Linked DNA regions of Homo sapiens: region 1 is linked to region 2. The links are contacts of gene promoters, found by promoter capture Hi-C in human tissues and cell types (Jung and others, 2019). All regions are on one chromosome and are shown on one strand. The core of a region is centred on a gene start or on the middle of the fragment in contact, and the rest is flanking DNA. Distances in the headings are between cores, read along the strand shown.

What was found. The method cuts DNA at HindIII sites, captures the fragments that hold promoters and counts their contacts. A contact is called where the count stands out against the background at its distance.
Region 1: a contact is called between a fragment that was not itself captured here and the fragment with the promoter of IKBKB in region 2, in 1 of the 25 tissues and cell types used here (heart left ventricle).

Annotation. Positions count from the first base shown.
Region 1 is chr8:42,545,205-42,550,322 of GRCh38, reverse strand. SMIM19 (small integral membrane protein 19) reads right to left here. Exons shown (of 4, transcript NM_001135674.2): 2 at 3,717-3,854; 3 at 1,543-1,667. The coding sequence starts at 3,850. Among named protein-coding and RNA genes, the nearest start is that of SMIM19, 6.2 kb to the right of the region's middle. The HindIII fragment of the contact is 4,156 bases long and covers 1,053-5,118 here.
Region 2 is chr8:42,269,261-42,273,838 of GRCh38, reverse strand. It overlaps IKBKB (inhibitor of nuclear factor kappa B kinase subunit beta), which reads right to left and starts at 2,537. Exons shown (of 22, transcript NM_001556.3): 1 at 2,370-2,537; 2 at 1,634-1,756. The coding sequence starts at 1,738. It overlaps IKBKB-DT (IKBKB divergent transcript), which reads left to right and starts at 2,589. Exons shown (of 4, transcript NR_185843.2): 1 at 2,589-3,188. RefSeq lists a silencer at 2,257-2,546 and an enhancer at 3,043-3,542. The HindIII fragment of the contact is 8,594 bases long and covers 1-3,706 here.

The DNA.
Region 1 (5,118 bases), core at 1,881-4,380, 280 kb before region 2:
GCAATAGAAAACTGATACACCTTGCAAACAGAAATTTGGATCAATTTTATTTTATATCATTTCCATCAAAAAAGAAATAAACTGTGGGTTTGTAATGTATCTGCTATGTTACTGAGCATATTACTGACAGCAAATAACTTTTGTGTACGTGTCAATAAAAACTTAGTTCTTTACTTAGAATTTTTCATACAGAGCTCCTGGCTCTGTACTTTTTTTTATTTTTTTTAAGACGAAGTTTCACTCTTGTCCCCCAGGCTGGAGTGTAATGGTGTGATCTCTGCTCACTGCAACCTCTGCCTCCTGGGTTCAAGCAATTCTCTTGCCTCAACCTCCTGAGTAGCTGGGATTACAGGCACCCACCACCACACCCAGCTAATTTTTGTACTTTTAGTAAAGATGGGGTTTCACCATGTTGGCAGGCTGGTCTCGAACTCCTGACCTCAAGTGATCCACCTGTCTCAGACTCCCAAAGTGCTAGGATTACAGGCGTGAGCCATCACACCTGGCCCCAAGGCTCTGTACTTTTTTTTTTAAACAATACTTATGTTTCTTTAAAAGGATTTTTTTTAATGTGGTAAAACATACATAACATAAACTTTACCATTTTAACCATTTTTAAGTGTACAGTTCAGTGGCATTACATATATTTGCATTGCTGGGACTATCACCACCATCCATCCACAGAGCTCTTCTCATCATCCCCAACTGAACTCTGGACCCATTAAACTCCCTATTCCCCTCTTCCATAGCCCCAGGCAACCACCATTCTACTTTGTGTCTCTGTGATTTGCCTCACGTAAGTGAAATAATCCAATATTTGTCCTGTTGTGACTGGCTTATTTCACTTAGTGTACTGTCTTCAAGGTTCATCCATGTGTAGCATGTCAGAATGTACTTCTTTTTTTTTTTTTGAGACGGAGTCTTGCTCTGTCGCCCAGGCTACAGTCCAGTGGTGTGATCTTAGGCCACTGAAACCTCTGCCTCCCAGGTTCGAGCGATTCTCCTGCCTCTGCCTCCCGAGTAGCTGGGATGACAGGCACCCGCAAGTGTGCCCAGCTTATTTTTGTATTTTTGGTAGAGACAGGGTTTCACCATCTTGGCCAGCCTGGTCTTGAACTCCTGACCTTGTGATCCACCCACCTCAGCCTCCCAAAGTGCTGGGATTGTAGGTGTGAGCCACCACTCCCGGCCAGAATGTCCTTCCTTTTAAGGGCTGAATAACATTCTATTGTATGCACCACACTTTGTTTATTCATTCATGGGCTGAGGACTTATGGGTGATTTCCACCTTTTGGCTATTGTGAATAATGCTGCTATGTTGAATTAAGTTATATGTCTTATTTTGAGCCAGTAACACATGCAAATGGTATAAAATACAAAAGGAACAAAGGATAAGTATCTGAAAAACATATTAAACATCTGAAAGAAGTACTAAGTTTTCATTACTTACGATTTCTAATAACATTTTGCTAAATGAACTCAATTCCAGAAAATCTATTTTAAATGTGCATATGTGTATCTTTCAGCACAGAATATACTTACAAATGGAATACATTTCCAGTTGTTGTCTTAAACGAATCTTGCTTATCGTGTCATAAAAGTTGGGCTCTGACAAAGTTTCCTCTGTAGGTGGCACACTGAATATCCTCATAATTCTCCTTTTGTTCCTAAACACAAAATCCATGCAGAAGAGATGTTTGTATTAATGTCTATAGAGTTGTAATATGCTCATGATCCTGGTCATCAGAAGCTGTGGTAAAAGGACTTAAATGACAAGACCATTTTACTTTCTATTTTGTCTTTGAGAGCTGCTTCCTTGGCTCAAAGTATTCTTTCTTTCACTAAAAAGTATGAGGCTGTGAGAAAAGTAGCTGAACACATCCATTTAACACAACAAAGTGAAGTTCCTCCATTGTGATTCTCCTCAATCCTCCAAAAGCCAAATATCCTATGAGAAAATCACAAACAAGAAAACAGCTGATTTTTCCTCCCTTTCATGACATCCAGATAAAGCTAAATGACTGGGCTGGAGAATAAACTGAATGTGAGCAGATCCTAATTTTGGAAAGTAATGAATAAACATATTTCTTAAATACAATAGGATGGGCTTAGTGGAGACATCTTTTTAAAATTAAGAACAGCGTGCCTCTGCTTTTAAAAGAAACATGGGGAGGCGGCGGTGGCTGTTTTTAGAGGAAAGCGGTCACCTGCCAGGTGATCAGTGATGGTCAGGGTGCCTCCTCTCACCACCCCTAGAGTTCAGCAGCCAACAGGCCAGCTGCTCCAGGAGGGTTCAGCTGAGATCTGGGCGCAAGTGCGGGCTCTGAATGATTCCTCAGGCCAAACGTAAATTATTTCTGGATTACTAATTACCTTGAACTCTCGAATGCCTTTTTACCTTGGGACAGGATACCTGTAAAGCATGTGTCTGCAGAAGCATCCCAATCTAACACTGCTCTTCCTCTTTTTAAAGCATCCCTGCACCTCCCCCTTTTTACTGTACTTCTGGGAAAGGAGCCAGGGAATGTGGAAAAGCAGTTAAATTAAGCTACAACATCTGGAATTAAAGCAGGAAATACTTATTGAAGATTTACACTATATGGCACACCAAGGACCCAAAAGTAAAAGACAAAAAAGACATGTTGTGGAATGGACAGACAAGTAATCAGATAAAACTAACATTGTTTAATAAGTGCTATGATATAGTCATGCACAAAAAACAAGGAAAAGCTTATACTGGCTAAAGGGAGATCTGCTGAATACACAGGAGTCAGTGTTTCTGCATTCAGGGACTTAAGCCAAAAAAAATGTGCTCAATGAAGGGTGACAATGAACCCAGGCTGGATGATAAAATTGGGCTATATTAGAAATTGCAGAATTGAGAGTTTAGTGCAGCTGGCCTGGGGGCTGAGAGTGGTACTTAACTCTTCATTTCTTAAAGCGATGGGGTTTTCTTTTTTTTTTTTGAGATGGAGTCTCACTTTGTCGCCCAGGCTGGAGTGCAATGGCACGATCTTGTCTCACTGCATCCTCCTCCCATGTTCAAGTGATTCTCCTGCCTCGGCCTCCCAAGTAGCTGGGATTACAGGCTCACGCCATCACGCCCAGCTAATTTTTTTATTTTTAGTAGAGACGGGGTTCACCATGTTGGCCAGACTGGTCTTGAACTCCTGACCTCAGGAGGTCCACCAGCCTCAGCCTCCCAAAATGCTGGGATTACAGGTGTGAGCCACCGTGTCTGGCCAGCAATGGGGTTTTCAGAGCCAAACCTTGGCCACCAATGCTTGAGACCAGAGTAGACAGTGTCTTTCAGCACTAGAACAAAAATTATAATGAAATTTCTTTCTTTTTTTTTCTGAGGCGGAGTCTTGCTCTGTCGCCAGGCTGGAGTACACCACTGCAACCTCCAACTCCCTGGTTCAAGTGATTCTCCTGTCTCAGCCGCCCAAGTAACAGGGATTACAGGCACGCACCACCATGCCCAGCTAATTTTTGTATTTTTAGTAGAGACAGGGTTTCACCATGTTGGCCAGGATGGTCTCAATTTCCTGACCTCGTGATCTGCCCACCTCGGCCTCCCAAAGTGCTGGGATTACAGGTGTGAGCCACTGCGTCCAGCCTGATGAAATTACTTTTATGCATTCATTTCATATTTCTTAAACTAGCAAAACTTGTAAATGCACAGTTTTTATCTACCCTGAGAAACAAAAATTTACCTTTTGGCATACATGAAGAGACCGAAGCTAACAAGGATAACTATCAAGTAAACATTGGTGGCTTCATTCCAGGCTTCGTGAACAGTATAATCAATAGAACCATCGTCACCCATCACTCCATAACCCCCAGCCATGGGGCTGTAAGAGAGAAAAGAAAGCAGGGTTTCTTTTAATTAATGATGGTAGCACTGTCTGGAGAAGGGTTGGCAAACATATGGCCTGCTGGCCAAATCCAGTCCACCACCTGTTTGTGTGCGGCCCATGAGCCAAGAATGGGATTTACATTTCTAAGTGGCACATTTTAAATGGTGCAGTTGGCCCTCTCTATCTGACGGTTCTGCATCCACATAATCAACCAACTGTGAATGGAAAATATTTGGGAAAAAATACAAATTTTAAAAAATACATTATACCAACTATTTACATAGCATTTACATTGTATTAGGTATTGTAAGTGCTTAGAGATGATTTAAAGTACATAGAGGATGTGCTTAGGTTATATGCAATACTATGCCATTTTATATCGGGACTTGGGCATCTACGGATTTTGATATCTGAGGGGGTCCTGGCACCAATCTCCCAAATACCAAGGACTGCACCTACACAATATTGATTTTGTTTCAAAGCCCACAAAACCTAAAATATTTACAATCTGGCCCTTTAAGAAACTTGGGATAAAAAATAATATTACTAAAAGGACTGAGCTTGAAATGTTATTGCAGTTTCCAAATTGTAACACCCAGAGGAAAGTAACAGAATACTTTAAAACAGAGACTCTGCTGGGCGTGGTGGCTCAGGCCTGTAATCCCAGCACTCTGGGAGGCCGAGGTGGGTGATCACCTGAGGTCAGGAGTTCAAGACCAGCCTGGCTAACATGGTGAAACCCTGTTTCTCTAAAAATACAAAAAATTAGCTGGGCATGATGGCGGGTGACTGTAATCCCAGCTACTTGGGAGGATGAGGCAGAAGAATTGCTTGAACCTGGGAGACGGAGGTTACAGTGAGCGGAGGTCAGGCAGTTGCAATGCAGCCTGGGTGACAGAGCGGGACTCCATCTCAAAAAACAAAAACCACAGAGACTCAACACCTGGCTGTGCTGCTACAAAAGTGTTGCACAGCAGCCTAGCAAGGATGTGACAGCCAGAACATGGCTCTCTCACCCCGCATGCCTCCCACACTGGGAAACGTTTAGAGCTTTATCTAGTTTTGGCCTGCTGGACAAATTTGGTTGAAAGAAGCTATGGGATGAAAAGATACATTTTGCTATTGACACAGCTGTGACATCTACCCTAGGAAATGCATTCTTTGGACATTCCCACAGAAAGTTAGAGTGGTCACAGCAAGTGCATCAAACAGCAAGTAAAAGTAATGACTTCTTCTTTGTGTTTGAGAAGTTAACTGA
Region 2 (4,578 bases), core at 1,288-3,787:
ACTCATGGCTGTAATCCCAGCACTTTGAGAGGCCAAGGCAGGAAGATCACTTGAGGCCAAGAGTTCTAGACGAGCCTGGACAACATTGTGAGACCACCATCACTACAAAAAATAAAAAAAAAACCTCAGCTGAGGCCAGGTCCCATGGCTCAGGCCTGTAATCCAAACATTTTGGGAGGCAAAGACGGGAAGACTGCTTGAGGATGAGAGTTTGAGACAAGCCTGGGCAACATAGCAAGACCCCATCTCTACAAAATTTAAAAAAATGTTAATTATTTGAAATATGGATTTTCATCATCATTCTAAATGAATTCTCACTTTCATGTGGATCTGCTTATTTTTTGCCGTGCAGTATCGCAAGCAATACTGGGAAGACATCATAATTAGCAAATATTTTAAATATATATATATATATATATTTTTTGAGACAGGGTCTCATTCTGTCACCCAGGCTGGAATGCAGTGACACTATCTCGGCTCACTGCAACCTCTGCCTCCTGGGTTCAAGCGATTCTCCTGCCTCAGCCTCCTGAGTAGCTGAAGTTACAGGCATGCACCACCACACCAGCTAATTTTGTATTTTTAGTAGAGATGAGGTTTCACCATGTTGGCCAGGCTGGTCTCAAACTCCTGACCTCAAGTGATCCTCCTGCCTCGGCCTCCCAAAGTGCTGGGATTACAGGTGTAAGCCACTGCACCCGACATTTAAAATAATTTTTAAAAAATGGTTTTGAAACAAGGTCTCACTCTGTCACCTAGGCTAGAGTGCAGTGGCACAATCATAGCTCACTACAGCCTCAAACTCCTGGACAAGCAATCCTCCCACATCAGCCTCCAATGTAGTGGGACTACAGGTACGCACCAAGGCTGCCTAAGGTTTTTTTTTTTTTTTTTTTTTTGAGACGGAGTCTCACTCTGTTACCCAGGCTGGAGTGCAGTAGCGCAATCTTGGCTCACTGCAACCTCCGCCTCATGGGTTCAAGCGATTCTCCTGCCTCAGCCTCCCAAGTAGCTGGGGACTACAGGCACGTGCCACCAAGCCTGGCTAATTCTTTGTATTTTTAGTAGAGATGGGGTTTCACAGTGTTAGCCAGGATGGTCTCCATCTCCTGACTGCGTGATCCGCCTGCCTCAGCCTCCCAAAGTGCTGAGATTACAGGTATAAGCCACCACGCCCAGCTGGCTGCCTAATTTTTAAACCTTTTTTGTAGAGACGAGGTCTTGCTATGTTGCCCAGGCTGCTCTTGAACTACTGGCCTCAAGGAATTAAAATATTTTAAATTATTTATTTAGTCTCATCCTTTAAATTTTCCTATTTCTATATGTTTTATAACATATAATATCAGTATATATTAGTACATGATATTCTACTGTTACCATATATATATAATAGAGACTAAGAGCTTAACTTTATTTTACTATTTATTTAGGTGACATAGTCAATAAAGCATGGAGACCACTAACCTGGAGTCAGCTCAGAAGTCCTGAAGCCCTCTTCCCAGTCCCCCTATTCACTGTCCCAAGATGACCAAAGCCAAAGGTGAGCCCTTGGCCCAGCAGGATCAGAGAAAGTGGAGGCAGTGAGGAGGGGGCCTGGCTCCCCGCCCCTCCCCAAGCTGCACAGAGGGCCTACCTGATTGTGCCATCGGATGACATTTCCAAATCCCCCTGTCCCAAGGCGCTCTTTCATTTCCCAGGCCCCACATGTCTGCGTTGTCAGGGAAGGTGACCAGCTCATACTGATGTCGTGCTAACTCTATAAGCAATTTGGGATGGGGAAAAAAGGTTAGGATTAAGAAAAAAATGGAGCTCAAAGGGATGGAGAAGGCAAGAGATACCACTGCTCTTGAATGGGAGAGAAGAAAAATACAACTGGTTTTTTATTTTGTAAAGAAACCAATGTGTTTGGTTGGTCCAAACTTTGTGGCAAACTTTTGTCCCTCTCACCCTCCCCCATCCGGTTGCTGTGGCATCAGGCAAGGAAGAAAGTCACCGAGGGAGGCGATGCCCACGCCCTTGCCCTAGCGAGGGGATCCCCAGCTGACTCCACCAGGGGCGCCCGGGCCTGCCCGCCTTCTGCCCGAGGTGGCAGGGGCAGAACCTACTTCTGAGCATCGCCGAGGTCACGTGTTTCTTTACAATGTTCCCATAAATCGCAGGTTCCCCTCAAAGCCACCCACCCCCAAGAAGCCACCCCAGGGAGAGCTGTTTCTCCCGGCTTCCCGAACTCCAACCCGCACAAGTGAAACGCTCCCCAGTCCGCAAGCTGCGACTTCCCAGCGGCACAGAGGGGTCTTCCGGGCCTTGCAGGCAGCGGGGCGGCGGGGCCTGCAGGTGGCACCCGGGCCGCACCCACGAGGGGGACTCACCTGTCGGCAGGGACGCGGGGCAGGGGGCGGGCTCCCCGGGGCGGGGAAGGCGGGGCTGGGGCGGCCAAACCCGGGGCTATGACACCCCCCTGAAAACATTAAAATGCGGGAATCTTAACGCGGGCAGCGCGGCGCGACTTCCTCAAACACTTCCTGCTCTGACGTCACGGAGCACGTTGGCCGCGGCCGCTCTTAAAGAGGCCGCTCCCGGCGCGAGGCAGACCAGGTCCGGATGCTGCGAGTGCTGCGCCTGTCCCGGGACCCTCGACCGGGCGACTCCCCCGGGGCGGGGGTGGCGTGTGGTCTCTAGACAACTGAGGGAAAGTAGACAGACCGTGCTCACCGATTTAAAAGAACAGCCCTGAAATGACCCCCGTTACACCCTGTTCTCTTTAGACAAGTTACTTCCACCTGGAGCGGTTTCTGGGCCCGGGTATGGGGATTTCTTCACCCGGCCCCCTAGGCTTTCACCTCGGTGGAATTTCCCGCGCCCCCGCTGGGATGATTTAGGGACTGTTGGCTAGAACTGCCCTTGCCTACCGCCCTACTGCGGGCGCTCCCCTGTCTGGGGGGTGCTTGGCTGGGTGTGGAGAAGGATCAATCACAGCTGACTCCTCAGAGGTGACAGCCCCTGCCCCCTTAAAAACAAGAAAAGACCTAGCAGTGTGAAGCCAAACTGCACCCCCAGCCCCGGTGACATGAGGAAACCGTGAGGCGCTCAGCCTGAGGTTCATCGTTCATCTCCTTCCTGCTTGGAATCAGAATGTCCTCACTGCTGAGTTTCTCCGTTTTATGGGATTACATTAGTGGACAAAGGAGGTGTGTGTGTGTGTTGCTATATTTTATTCAAGCAGAAAAAAACTACCAAAGGAACCTGAAGATGATAATAATAGCTCACATCTATAGAGTGCTTACACAGTGCAGGGCTCTGTTCTAAATCTCTGTACTTAGATTTCCTTATTCAATCCTCAGGGCAACCCTGTAAATTGGAAAATACTGCATCATCATCATCATTATTATTATTATCTCGCTCTGTCACCCAGGCTGGAGTGCAGTGGTGTGATCACAGCTCAGTGCAACCTCCAACTCCTGGGCTCAAGTGATTCTCCTGACTACAGGTGCGCGGCCGCCATACCTGGTGGCGGGGTCTCACTCACTGTGTTGCCCAGGCTGGTCTCCAACTCCTGGGCTCAAGGGATCCACCCGCCTGGGCTTCCCAAAGTGTTGAGATTACAGGCTGTGAGCCACTGCACCTGGTCTGCATTATTATTATTTCCAAGGTACATGGCTGCTACGTAGATGAGCTGATACTCAAACCCTAGCAACTGGTTCCCGGGTTCTTAATCCGTGGCTAAAAGTAGCATGTTAAGAAGTTCAGAAGGAGGCAAACTGGATTTTGAATCCAGATACTGCTGTTGACTACCTCTGAGGCACGGGGGCTGGTTACTTAAACACTGTGAGAACCTATTTCCTCTTTTAAAATTTAGGCAATATTAGGTTGAATTGCATTTAATTGTCATTTTTTGGAAATTGAAAACAGCCAAAACATCAGTAACAAAGATCAGCAGTTTCATCTGCTTCATTGTAATAGCAGGGGGACAGGCGGGCTCATAGAAAGTCATAGAAAGGAGGCCACCCCAGAGTTGTTGTGAGGGACAAATGAGGTATTGATAGCAGCAGTGCCTGACAGCCCTGGGGTTGAAGTTAACTCAGGGACAGATCTCAACCCAAACATAGGGGTCAATGGTGTCCAGGGCTGTGCTAGGCACGCTGGCTGCTCGGTTTCTCCCCTCTCCCCTCTTCCCTCTCCTTTCTCTTTTTCTTTCTCTCTCTCTCTCTTTTCCTTCCTTCCTTCCCCCTCCCCTCTCCTCCCCTCCCCTCCACTCCCCTCCCCTTCCCTTCCCTTCCCGGCTACTTGGTTTCTTTCTTTTCCTTCTTTTCCTTCCTTCCTATCTCTCCTCCTTCCTTCCTTCTTTCCTTCTTTCCTTTCCTTTTCCTCCCCTCCCCTCCCCTCCCCTCCCCTCCCCTCGCTTCCCCTCCCCTTCCCTTCCCAGCTGCTAGCTTTCTTTTTTTTCTTTCCTTTCTTTCTTCCTTTCCTTTCCTTTCTTCCTTTCCTTTCCTTTTCTTTCCTTTTCTTTCTTTTTTCTTTCTTGACAGGGCCTTTCTCTATCGCCCACTTTGGAGTATAGTGGCAGGATCACGGCTCACT